2 separate regions of the Homo sapiens genome follow, and region 2 is linked to region 1. The links are contacts of gene promoters, found by promoter capture Hi-C in blood cells and fetal thymus (Javierre and others, 2016). All regions are on one chromosome and are shown on one strand. Each heading gives the region's core, a stretch centred on a gene start or on the middle of the fragment in contact. The rest is flanking DNA. Distances are from core to core; before and after follow the strand shown. Region 1 holds the start of ACAP1 (ArfGAP with coiled-coil, ankyrin repeat and PH domains 1). Region 2 overlaps DLG4 (discs large MAGUK scaffold protein 4).

What was found. The method cuts DNA at HindIII sites, captures the fragments that hold promoters and counts their contacts. A CHiCAGO score of 5 or more calls a contact.
Region 2: a fragment that was not itself captured here is called in contact with the fragment with the promoter of ACAP1 in region 1 in 8 of 17 cell types (naive CD4 T cells, total B cells, naive B cells and 5 more); the score reaches 7.1 in naive CD4 T cells.

Annotation. Positions count from the first base shown.
Region 1 is chr17:7,335,140-7,340,151 of GRCh38, forward strand. It overlaps ACAP1 (ArfGAP with coiled-coil, ankyrin repeat and PH domains 1), which reads left to right and starts at 1,390. Exons shown (of 22, transcript NM_014716.4): 1 at 1,390-1,648; 2 at 2,173-2,230. The coding sequence starts at 1,596. RefSeq lists enhancers at 833-1,594, 1,595-2,356 and a silencer at 1,252-1,461. The HindIII fragment of the contact is 9,667 bases long and covers 1-5,012 here.
Region 2 is chr17:7,209,224-7,214,557 of GRCh38, forward strand. The region is part of intron 1 of DLG4 (discs large MAGUK scaffold protein 4); the gene reads right to left. Among named protein-coding and RNA genes, the nearest start is that of DLG4, 5.7 kb to the right of the region's middle. RefSeq lists enhancers at 1,806-2,320, 2,321-2,835, 5,087-5,334 and a silencer at 5,129-5,334. The HindIII fragment of the contact is 1,438 bases long and covers 927-2,364 here.

The DNA.
Region 1 (5,012 bases), core at 140-2,639:
CTGAACAGCCTCAAGTCCAAGGTCCACATTGGACAGGCGAGGAACCAGGGAGACTCAGAGGCGGTTGGGACCCCCTCCAGCTTGGCACCACACACTGGCTCCATGCCTCCTCCTTCACTCCTCTGCCACACCACCCCACTCCAGGTATTTCTCTGTCCTCCAAAGACAGTGAGTCTCAAGTGGTGTCCAGCTGGTGGCTGGGGGGCTGAGCTGGCAAAGCCCAAGGAGTTCAGAGAGGGAGAGTGGAAGCAACCCCAACTCCTCAAGCCAGAACAAGCACAGCCTGGCACACTGAGCCTGGGCAGAGGCAAGGGGATGCATACACTGGCCAGGGAGGTAGAGGAGCTGAGTGGGGAGGTTCTAGGGGATCCAGAGTCACATGGACAAGATCTCATGCCTGCTACGAGAAAGCCATGAACTCAAACTCTTCTCTCCAGATGAAACCCTGGGACTTCAATGGACTCAAGAAAAGGAAAGCAAACAATGGAAAATGGGGCTGGTTGGGGGCGGAGTGGGGGCAACCTTCCCTTCATGACCACCCTATGAATAGAAATAAAGAGCAGAAGAGCAAGAGTCTGGGAGCTGTGAATCGGGTGCTCAGGCTGGGCCTGCTCAGTCGTTGAGGAGAGGGGAGGAGGAAGGGGAGTTCACACACAGGAACCATGAATATGACGGCAAAACGAAGAAAGCTGGGAGCAGTCCGGGGTACTGGACTCCACAGGAGCAGGCCCAAGCTGTAGCAGGATGACAATGACTGATGCAATTAATATAGTGAACCAGCTGGGCACAGTGGCTCACGCCTGTAATCCTAGCACTTTGGGAGGCCGAGGTGGGTGGATCACCTGAGGTCAGGAGGTCGAGACAAGTCTGACCAACAAGGTGAAACCCCGTCCCTACTGAAAATACAAAAAGTTAGCCGGGCATGATGGCAGGAGCCTGTAGTCCCAGCTACTCGGGAGGCTGAGACAGGAGAATTGCTTGAACCCAGGAGGCGGAGGTTGTAGTGAGCCGACATCGCGCCACTGCACTGCAGCCTGGGCGATGGAGGGAGACTCCGTCTCATAAATAAATAAATTTAGTGAACCATGAATTTACTGCTATCACCTTCTTCACTTCGTACAGCCCTGGAGGAAGGGGTTATCATTCCCATCTTCCAGATGAGAAAACTGAGGAATCAGAGAGCTCGTCCAGGGGCACATAACCTCTAAGTGACAGAGCCAGGATTTGAACCTAGATCTGCCAGGCCCCCAAGATAACCACGAAGAGAGAAAGAAACAGAGGCTAGAGCCCCAGGAGGAAGGAGCTGGCAGATCGTCTCTGAGGGTGGGGCTGTGGCTTCTCTGATCTCAGGCCCCCATCCTCCGCCCAGGCCCCGCCCCTGCCCCTCCCAGCACTGCCTGGAAGTGTGGGGTGAGAGCTCCTCCTAGGACACCCCTTTCCCCTTGGGGAAAGAATTGTGCCCCCAGGCCCTTCCCCGCGGAGGTCCCTCTCCTCCTTCCCCCTCATCTCCCCTTCCTGGGACAGAAAGTGCCTCCACCTGCATCCCCAGGGGCCCGGCCTCCAGGGCCCGCTGGCCCCACAGCAGGCAAGCTGAGATGACGGTCAAGCTGGATTTCGAGGAGTGTCTCAAGGACTCACCCCGTTTCCGGTAAGTGTGAACTGGTCTGGGGGGCTAAGGAGGGGAAAGTCTAACACCCCCAGCACACACACACCTTTCCCCAGGCCAGGTCTCCTTCCAGGGAGCAGGCCTCTAAGAGGCAGGAGCGAGCCTGTGGGCCAAAGTGGTACCCCAGCTGTGAAAGCAGGGTACTCCAATGCTCTCTGCCCCTGCATGCTCCTCCTGGCCTCTGCAGTTTCCCTCACCCCTAGAGCTGGCATTCCCTCTGGCCTCTCAGTGGGACCCCTGCCCCTCCCCCAGCACCTGCTCTGGGGCGGTTAGCAACTTCCTGCCCTGGCCACATCCACCCTCCTTCTACCCTTCCTGCTCTGGCCTGGGCTGTGGTAGCTCCCAGACTGCAGAGCGGGCAGAGCACAAGTAGGTGGGTGGGGGGCGAGCCTCTCAACTCTGCAGCTTTCTCCTCCGTACCCACCGCCCTGCGACTCCATCCCGCCTGATGAGGCAGACAGACCAGATGGACCCAAGCTCTCTTCCCATGACCCCCTCTTTCCCAGAGCCTCTATTGAGCTGGTGGAAGCCGAAGTGTCAGAATTGGAGACCCGTCTGGAAAAGGTGACCCTGACATGGAGAGGTGACCCAGGAGTGGATTAGGTTGAGAGGGGTAGGGCCAGGGAGAAAGCTGGAGACACAGAATGCATCCCAGGGATTATTGAATACTGTGTAGGGGAGATATTTTGGAGACTGCAGAGAAGCAAAAAAGGTGGTTCTGTACCGACAAGAAGCTCAGGATCTTGGAAAACAAGACTTACTTTTGGGCCAGGCATGGTAGCTCATGCCTGTAATCCCAGCACTTTGGGAGGCCAAGGTGAATGGATCACCTGAGGTCAGGAGTTCTAGACCAGCCTGGCTAACATGGCGAAACCCCATCTCTACTAAAAATGCAAAAATCATCCAGGCTTAGTGGCACCCATCTGTAGCTCCAGCTACTCAAGAGGCTGAGGCAGAGGAATCACTTGAACCTGGGAGGCGGAGGTTGCAGTGAGCCAAGATCGCACCACTGCACTCCAGGCTAGGCGACAGAGCGAGACTCTGTGTCAAAAAAAAAAAGACTTAATTTTGGACTTCCTTGTTCTGCTCTTGAGCTCCTGCATTGTGCCAGGCCCTGGGCATTCAGGGAGGACAAGATCATTTCTGCTCCCACGGAGCCCAAAGGCTGACTAGAAGACAAACCAGTGAAACGTTTCAATTCAAGACAGTAAGGTGTCCCCTGAGCACTCTATCAAACAGCATGTTCACACAAATACACACTCAAATGCTCTCTCATTCCCCTTACTTCGCTTTACTTTTCTCTGCAACATTTACCTCTGACACATTATGTATTTGCTTGCTATATATTAGTTCTCTATTGCTGTGTAACAAATTGTCACAAATTTAGTGGGCAACATTGTTTTATGGGCAACATGGTGAGACCTCATCTCTACAAATAATAATTTTATTTTTATTTTTATTTATTTGAGATGGAGTCTCGCTCTGTCACCCAGGCTGGAGTGCAGTGGTGCGATCTCGGCTTACTGGAACCTCCACCTCCCAGGTTCAAGTGATTCTCCTACCTCAGCCTCCCAAGTAGCTGGGATTACAGGTGTGCACCACCACACCTGGATAATTTTTTTTCTTTTTGTATTTTTAGTAAAGACAGGGTCTCACCATGTTGGCTAAGCTGGTCTTGAACTCCTGACCTCAAATGATCTACCTGCCGCAGCCTCCCAAAGTGCTGGCATTACAGGCTTAAGCCACCGCACCCGGCCTACAAATAATAATTTTAAACAATGGACTGGATGGAGTGGCCACAGCTGTGATCCCAGATGCTTCAATACTGGGCTCAAGTGATCCTCCCTCCTCAACCTCCCCAGTAGCTGTGCTACAGGCACATGCCACCACGCCTGGCTTTTTTAAATTTAAATTTATTTTTTGTAGAGATGGGGTCTCCCTATGTTACCTAGGCTGGTCTGGAACTCCTGGCCTCAAGTAATCCTCCCACCTCAGCCTCCCAAAGTGCTGGAATTACAGGTGTGAGCCACCACACCTGGCCTGAATTTTTTATTTTGAGTAAATTATTGACTCAGGAGACTAGTGAGGAGAGGTCTCATGTACCCATCACCCAGCTTCCCCCAGTGGTGACATCTTATACAATACTAGTACATTATTAAAACCAGGACATTAATAGTGTCACATTACAATTAACAATAAACTCGGCCAGGTGTGGTGGCTCACGCCTGTAATCCCAGCACTTTGGGAGGCCAAGGTGGGCGGATCACGAGGTCAGGAGATCGAAACCATCCTGGCTAACACTGTGAAACCCCGTCTCTACTAAAAATACAAAAAATTATTCGGGTGTGGCGGCAGGCGCCTGTAGTCCCAGCTACTCAGGAGGCTGAGGCAGGAGAATGGCGCGAACCCGGGAGGTGGAGCTTGCAGTGAGTGGAGGTCGTGCCACTGCACTCCAGCCTGGGCGACAGAGTGAGACTGTCTCAATAAACAAAAACAAACAAACAAAAAACCCCAATAAACTCTAGCCAAGCTCAGTGGCTCACGCCTGTAATCCCAGCACTTTGGTAGGCTGCGGCAGGTGGATCACGAGGTCAGGACTTCGAGAACAGCCTGACCAACATGATGAAACCCCCATCTCTACTAAAAATACAAAAATTAGCCAGGCGTGGTGGCACGCACCTGTAATCCCAGCTACTCAGGAGGCTGAGGCAGGAGAATTGCTTGAACCCAGGAGGCGGAGGTTGCAGTGAGCCGAGATCACGCCACCACACTCCAGCCTGCGGAGGTCGCAATGAGCCGAGATCGTGCCACTGCACTCCGGCGTGGGCGACAGACCAAGACTCTGTCTCTAAATAAATAAATAAACTCTATAGATCCTACTTTGATTTTACATTTTGCATATACTCTTTTTTGGTGTTTTTGTGTATAATTCTATGGTACTTTATCACGTGTATGGATTCCTTTAACCATCACCACACACCAATGGACACAAGGAATTCCTTTACAGTGGTACCCGACACCCTTCCCACACTTCTTTAATCTGTGGTAACCGCTGATTTGTTCTCCATCTCTCTACTTTTGTCATTTCCAGAATGTTCCATATATAGAATCATACACTATGTGACCCTTTGAGATTTGGCTTCCCCCTCCCCCCTCACTCAGAATAATGCTGCTGCCGGGTGTGGTCGCTCATGCCTGTCATCCCAACTACTCAGGAGGTCAAGGTAGGAGGGTTGCTTGAGGCCAGAAGCTCGAGACCAGCCTGGGCAACATAGCAAGACCCTTGTCTCTAAATAATGTTCTGTTTTGTTTTTAAATTAGCCAGGCATGGTGGTGTGTGCCTGTA
Region 2 (5,334 bases), core at 396-2,895, 130 kb before region 1:
TGTGCTAGCTTAATAGGGACAACAGTAAAATGAGATTAACTGGGGGCCAGAGAAGGAGGAAAAGGGCAGATGGAGACAGCAGAAGAAGACAGCGTTTCTGCCTGGGTCCTTCCGTGTCCGCCTCTGCCCTCGCCTGCTCCTCTCCTCTGGAACGGGCCTCCACAGAGACTGACCCTCCAAGCTCCAGGTTCAGGAAGGGGAAGGTATCATACGCAGGGATCCCTCAGGAACTGAAGAAGACAGAATGCACCGCCCAGTACACATGGGTAAAAAGAGAAGGCACGGCAATCCCAGCACTTTGGGAGGCTGAGGCAGGCAGACAGCTTGAGCCCAGGAGCTGGAGTTGGAGACCAGCCTGGGCAACACAGTGAAACCCTGTCTACAAAAAATACAAAAATTAGCCAGGCATGGTGGTGCACACCTGTAGTCCCAACTGCTAAGGAGGCTGAGGTGGGAGGATTGCTTGAGCCCAAGAGGTGGAGGCTGCAGTGAGCCATGATCACGCCACCGCACTCCAGCCTGGGCAACAGAGTAAGACCCTGTCTCAAAAAGAGAGAGAGGCCAGGAGCAGTGGCTGATGCTTATAATGCCGAGGTGGGTACATCACCTGAGGTCAGAGACCAGCCTGGCCAACATGGTGAAATCCCATCTCTACTAAAAATACAAAAATTAGCTGGGCGTGGTGGCACATGGCTGTAATCCTAGCTACATGGGAGGCTGAGGCAGGAGAATTGCTTGAACCTGGGAAGCGGAGGTTGCAGTGAGCCGAGATCATGCCACTGCACTCTAGCCTGGCGACAGAGTGAGACTCCATCTCCAAAACAAAAAAGAGAGAGGGCGAGCAGAATTTCCCTCCCAAAAGTTTCTGAGAGGCTGAGAGTGCCCTAATACTTAGAGGGCAGCAGCTGCGAGATCAAATGGGAGGAAGCTTATCAAGGTCAATGGCCAATCCTTGAGTAGGATTCTGAAAATGTTAAAGATGATGAATCAAGGCTGAGAATATAACACAACTTTGGCTGTAGAGTAAGGGTACAGTAAGAGAATGGGAGAAGGGAAGTGGTCCTGTCAGCACGAAAACTCTCAAACCCAGAACACAGAGACAACTCAAATCAAGAAGCACCCTGATACATTTAAAGAGTCTTAAAGAAGGAAAACGGGCTCAGCAAGATTGAGTCTATTCTCTGGGCCACAGACTTGGAGAGAATCCTGAACTCCAGATTTCAATCCGATGGGCACAAAAAGTAGAGAAGGAAAATAGGAGAACACACAAAATAGCCCTCCTCCAAGGCTGAGCTGTCTTGAATAAAGGAGTTCTATGAACCAACAGAGACTGTTCATTCCACATCCTGAGAAGGTGGTCTTCTACCTGGGCAGTGCACAAGCTGAGGGGCAAGCCCCAGAATTGAGACCTGGGGGAAGGGGTGGAAGCCGCTCTCCGCTATCCACTCTTCCTTCACAAGGCCTCCAATTCCCTGCAAGGTAAATTAGGACCAAAGCTCCAAGTTTTGGAGTCTGGGGGAGGGTTTGAGTCCAGTGCCTCTCCATCTTCACTCCACCTCAGAGAGAAAATTCCTGAATCTGAGGAGGAAATGTCAGCGTGCACCCAAAGAAAATGGAAACATGAGGAGGGCCATTTCATCATTTATTCTAGGGAGGAAATGAAGGTAAACTTTTATCTCAGCGAGCCCCCAATACCTCTCCCTGCCCCACCCCCATGGAGGGAGGGTGGTGTCTGGCACTGAAGAAAAGGCTCCTCAGGATTGGGAGGCAACATGGAGAAAATGGGGAACAAGAAATGGGTGCCAGGGTTTCCAGAATGTGGCTGGAAGAGGTTAGGGACTAGGTTCAGTCTCTGGAAATTTTCGACGTACATGTAGGGGGGCGGGGAGAAACGTCGGGAGGGGTGGGGGTGGGGGCGGGGGAGAGTAATTCTGAAACTGCAGACTGGGGGGCTGGGGCGGTGGGGGATCAGCACCTCTCAGTCTTGGATTACAGGGCAACTAAAGCAGGACGGGAAAGGAGGACCCCCCCCATCCTTTATCCTACTGGGACTCAGGGCCCTAACCCAGACAACTCAGATGCTACTGGGACATATCTGCACCCCCAATATATTAGGGCTTAAAACAAGTAAAAGGCCTGGGGAATGGGGGACACGGACGGAGTCGCTGTTGTTCCTTCCCCTTTGGCCCCCTCCTCACCAGAGCCCCAGTTGCACAGAATGACCTGGAACTGAGGCTTGCACCCCCAAAACATAGGGGTGTGAGTCAAAGTGAATGATAAGAGGGGCGACCCACGGCGCCTGTCCACGAGAAGTTGCAACCCAGAGACCCCGCACCAAGCAGAAGGAAGAGCGACAGCGCTTGAAGCTTGCACCCTGATATTTGCGGGGGTCCGGGAAGGGGGAGCGGGCCGGAGCCCATACCGCGGCACGTACCACGCAGAGACACATGGAGGCGAATCTGTTCCGAGCCGACATGGAGAAGGGGAGGGGGACTGAGGGAAGGGGGTAGGTGGGATATCAAGGGTCCCGGGGGTTGGGGGAGGGGGAGGGGCAGAGGGGCGGGGGCTGCGGCGGCCGCGGCAACTGGAGGCTGCGGCGGGGGGGGGGGGGGGGTGACGGCGCCTGCGCAGTAAGGAAGAGCGTCACGTTGGGAGAGAGGGGTGAGGGGAGACCCTCTTAGCCACCAACTTCCCTGGTTCACGCTGTTTCTCTGTGAACTTCACTTTCCACAGTATACTTCTATTCCGACCCCTCTACAATTAAAGACAGACTTAAATTTACCAGTTTATCTCTCTAGTTCTCAGGGACCCCTTATTCCATCCCATCTAATCCCCCAACCCCAACATCGCGAGACCCCAAACCATTCCAAAACCTCACTGGACATCTCGTCACTACTGGCCTCCCAGAGTCCAGGGAAACAAACAGCACTTCTCTCACAAGAACCCCCAAGGGATCTACACTGCCTCTCCCACCAAACCCCCGCAAGATTGGTGCTGTGGATAGCATCTCCTCAGATTCCAAGGCATCTCCTACTCTAACCAGCATAGTTCTCCCCTGCAGTCCAGCCCCACCTGATAGGCAGCCCATGTTTCTTCAAGAGTTTAAGGAACCACAGAGCCTTGTTGGCCCCCCAAATTAATATATGCTAAATCATCCCTTTCTATATCACATCTATCTCCCAATCCACTAACAGGGATGTTGCAATTAGTGCAAATATTACTCTTGCTCTAATATAAACATCCAAATAACAAGTCCTCTAATTTGTTGGGGATCCCCTGTCCAAACCCCCGAATCTAATAAGATACTCATGACTTCCTAATATGCCAGTCTCCAAATCCACACCAGAACCCAATTTCAGGAAATATTTAATCTACTTTAAAGCAGACCCTCCAAATTAAATAGCAATCTCGTCAATTTTTTCCAAAACTCTTATAAAAAGAAATGTAGACGGGAAGATCGCTGGAGGCCAGGTGCCCAACACCAGCTTGGGCAACATAGTGAGATCCCATCTCTAAAAAAAAAAATTTTGGCCTGGCACGGTGGCTCACACCTGTAATCCCAGCACTTTGGGAGGCCGAGGCGGTTGGATCATGAGGTCAGGCGTTCCAGACCAGCCTGGCCAAGATGGTGAAACCCCATCTCTACTAAAACTACAAAAATTAGCCGGGCGCGGTGGCAGGCGCCTGTAATCCTAGCTACTAGGGAGGCTGAGGCAGGAGGATGGCTTGAATCTGGGCAGCAGAGATTGCAGTGAGCCGAGATCGTGCCACTGCACTCTAGCCTAGGCGACAGAGTGAGACTCGGTCTCAAAAATTAATAATTAATTAATTAAAAGTATTTTCCTTTTCCTTTTCTTTTCTTTCTTTCTTTCTTTTTTTTTTTTTTTTTTTTGAGACAGATTCTCGCTCTGTTGCTCATGCTGGAGTGCAATGGCGCGATCTCGGCTTACTGCAACATCCGGCTCCCGGGTTCGAGTGATTCTCCTACCTCAACCTCCCGGATATCTGGCATTACAGGCGCCCGCCACTACGCCCGGCTAATTTTTTTGTATTTTTAGTAGAGACGGGGTATCGCCATGTTGGCCAGGCTGGTCTCGAACTCGTGACCTCACATGATCCGCGCGCCTCGGGCTCCCAAAGTGCTGGGATTACAGGTGTGAGCCACCGCACCCGGCACCTCCTCTCCTTTTCTTTACCCCTGAGGTTCATAGATTACACCCTTTTCTGTCTGCCCAGAACATCCCCTCCACGATTCTGAATTCCAACTTTGTCGGAAGATTGCTCCCAAATATATCTTCTCCACACTCAGGCCTCAAAAAATACACACCAAAGATACGGCCGGCAATCTGCAATGACCCACAAATCGTCCAGAACACTCCCAACCGCCTCCTTCAGGTCTCTTCAGAGATTTCCATTTTCTCCCAAACAACTTAACCTGAAAGCCTCTCTTCCAAATATTCTCCCATTGAACGCCCACCCTTCCAGCTCTTAAAACCCAGTGAGGGGTCTCCTCAAATCGGCTGACTTCTATAAAATGCCCATACATGGTAGAAATGACGACTTCCCTAGAATCTCACCCAAGCGAGATTGACCCCGTTGATCGGCATCTGTTACATGCGCCCCCAAGATGACCCCCAATGTCCTAGTTTCATATCTGGTAGGAAGGCTTGGATCACCAGAGGATCCAAGGAGTCAGTGCGGAAGGGGCTGGACTCAAATTTCCTTCTAGAATAGAAAACCTGCAGGCCCTGCTTATCCACCAGTGGGCGCCATGGCCCATAAAGACCCTTCCCCATCCCCCATTTCCCTTTTCCCTCCATTTTCCGTTTCTCTGTTGCCTGGCAACGCAGCAATCAAGGACTTTGCCGTCGCCTAGCAACCGTCTCCTGGGAACACAGAGCTGAGGTAGGAGGGGTGCTCTGATGAAATCTGAACAGACCTCCATCTTAGGAAAATTGAGACGTCAGACTTCCCAACCCCCGGATTCTCCTTTCCAAAGACCCCCGCGCCCTGAAGTTACTTGGACAATAGCTCCTCAAACCCTGTCTCCTTTACGCACGGGGGGCCACGCCACGCCCATCCCAGGTCAGCCCCGCCCTCATTTCGGTCAGGTAACCCAGCCCCAAGGTTCCTCCCCTTTCCGAAGGTTGCTGCCTCCCTCGATAGAGTAAGCCAGACCCCACCCACCTGCCCGGGAGGCCACGCCTCCGTCCACTTCCCGCCCGTTCGCTCCCCCTGCCTCGCCCACACTGTCCCTCCGCCACGCCCCTGACGGCCAATGAATGAGGCCGTCGGCCACACTGCCCCGCCCCCGGCATCTCGGCTTTGCCCAAT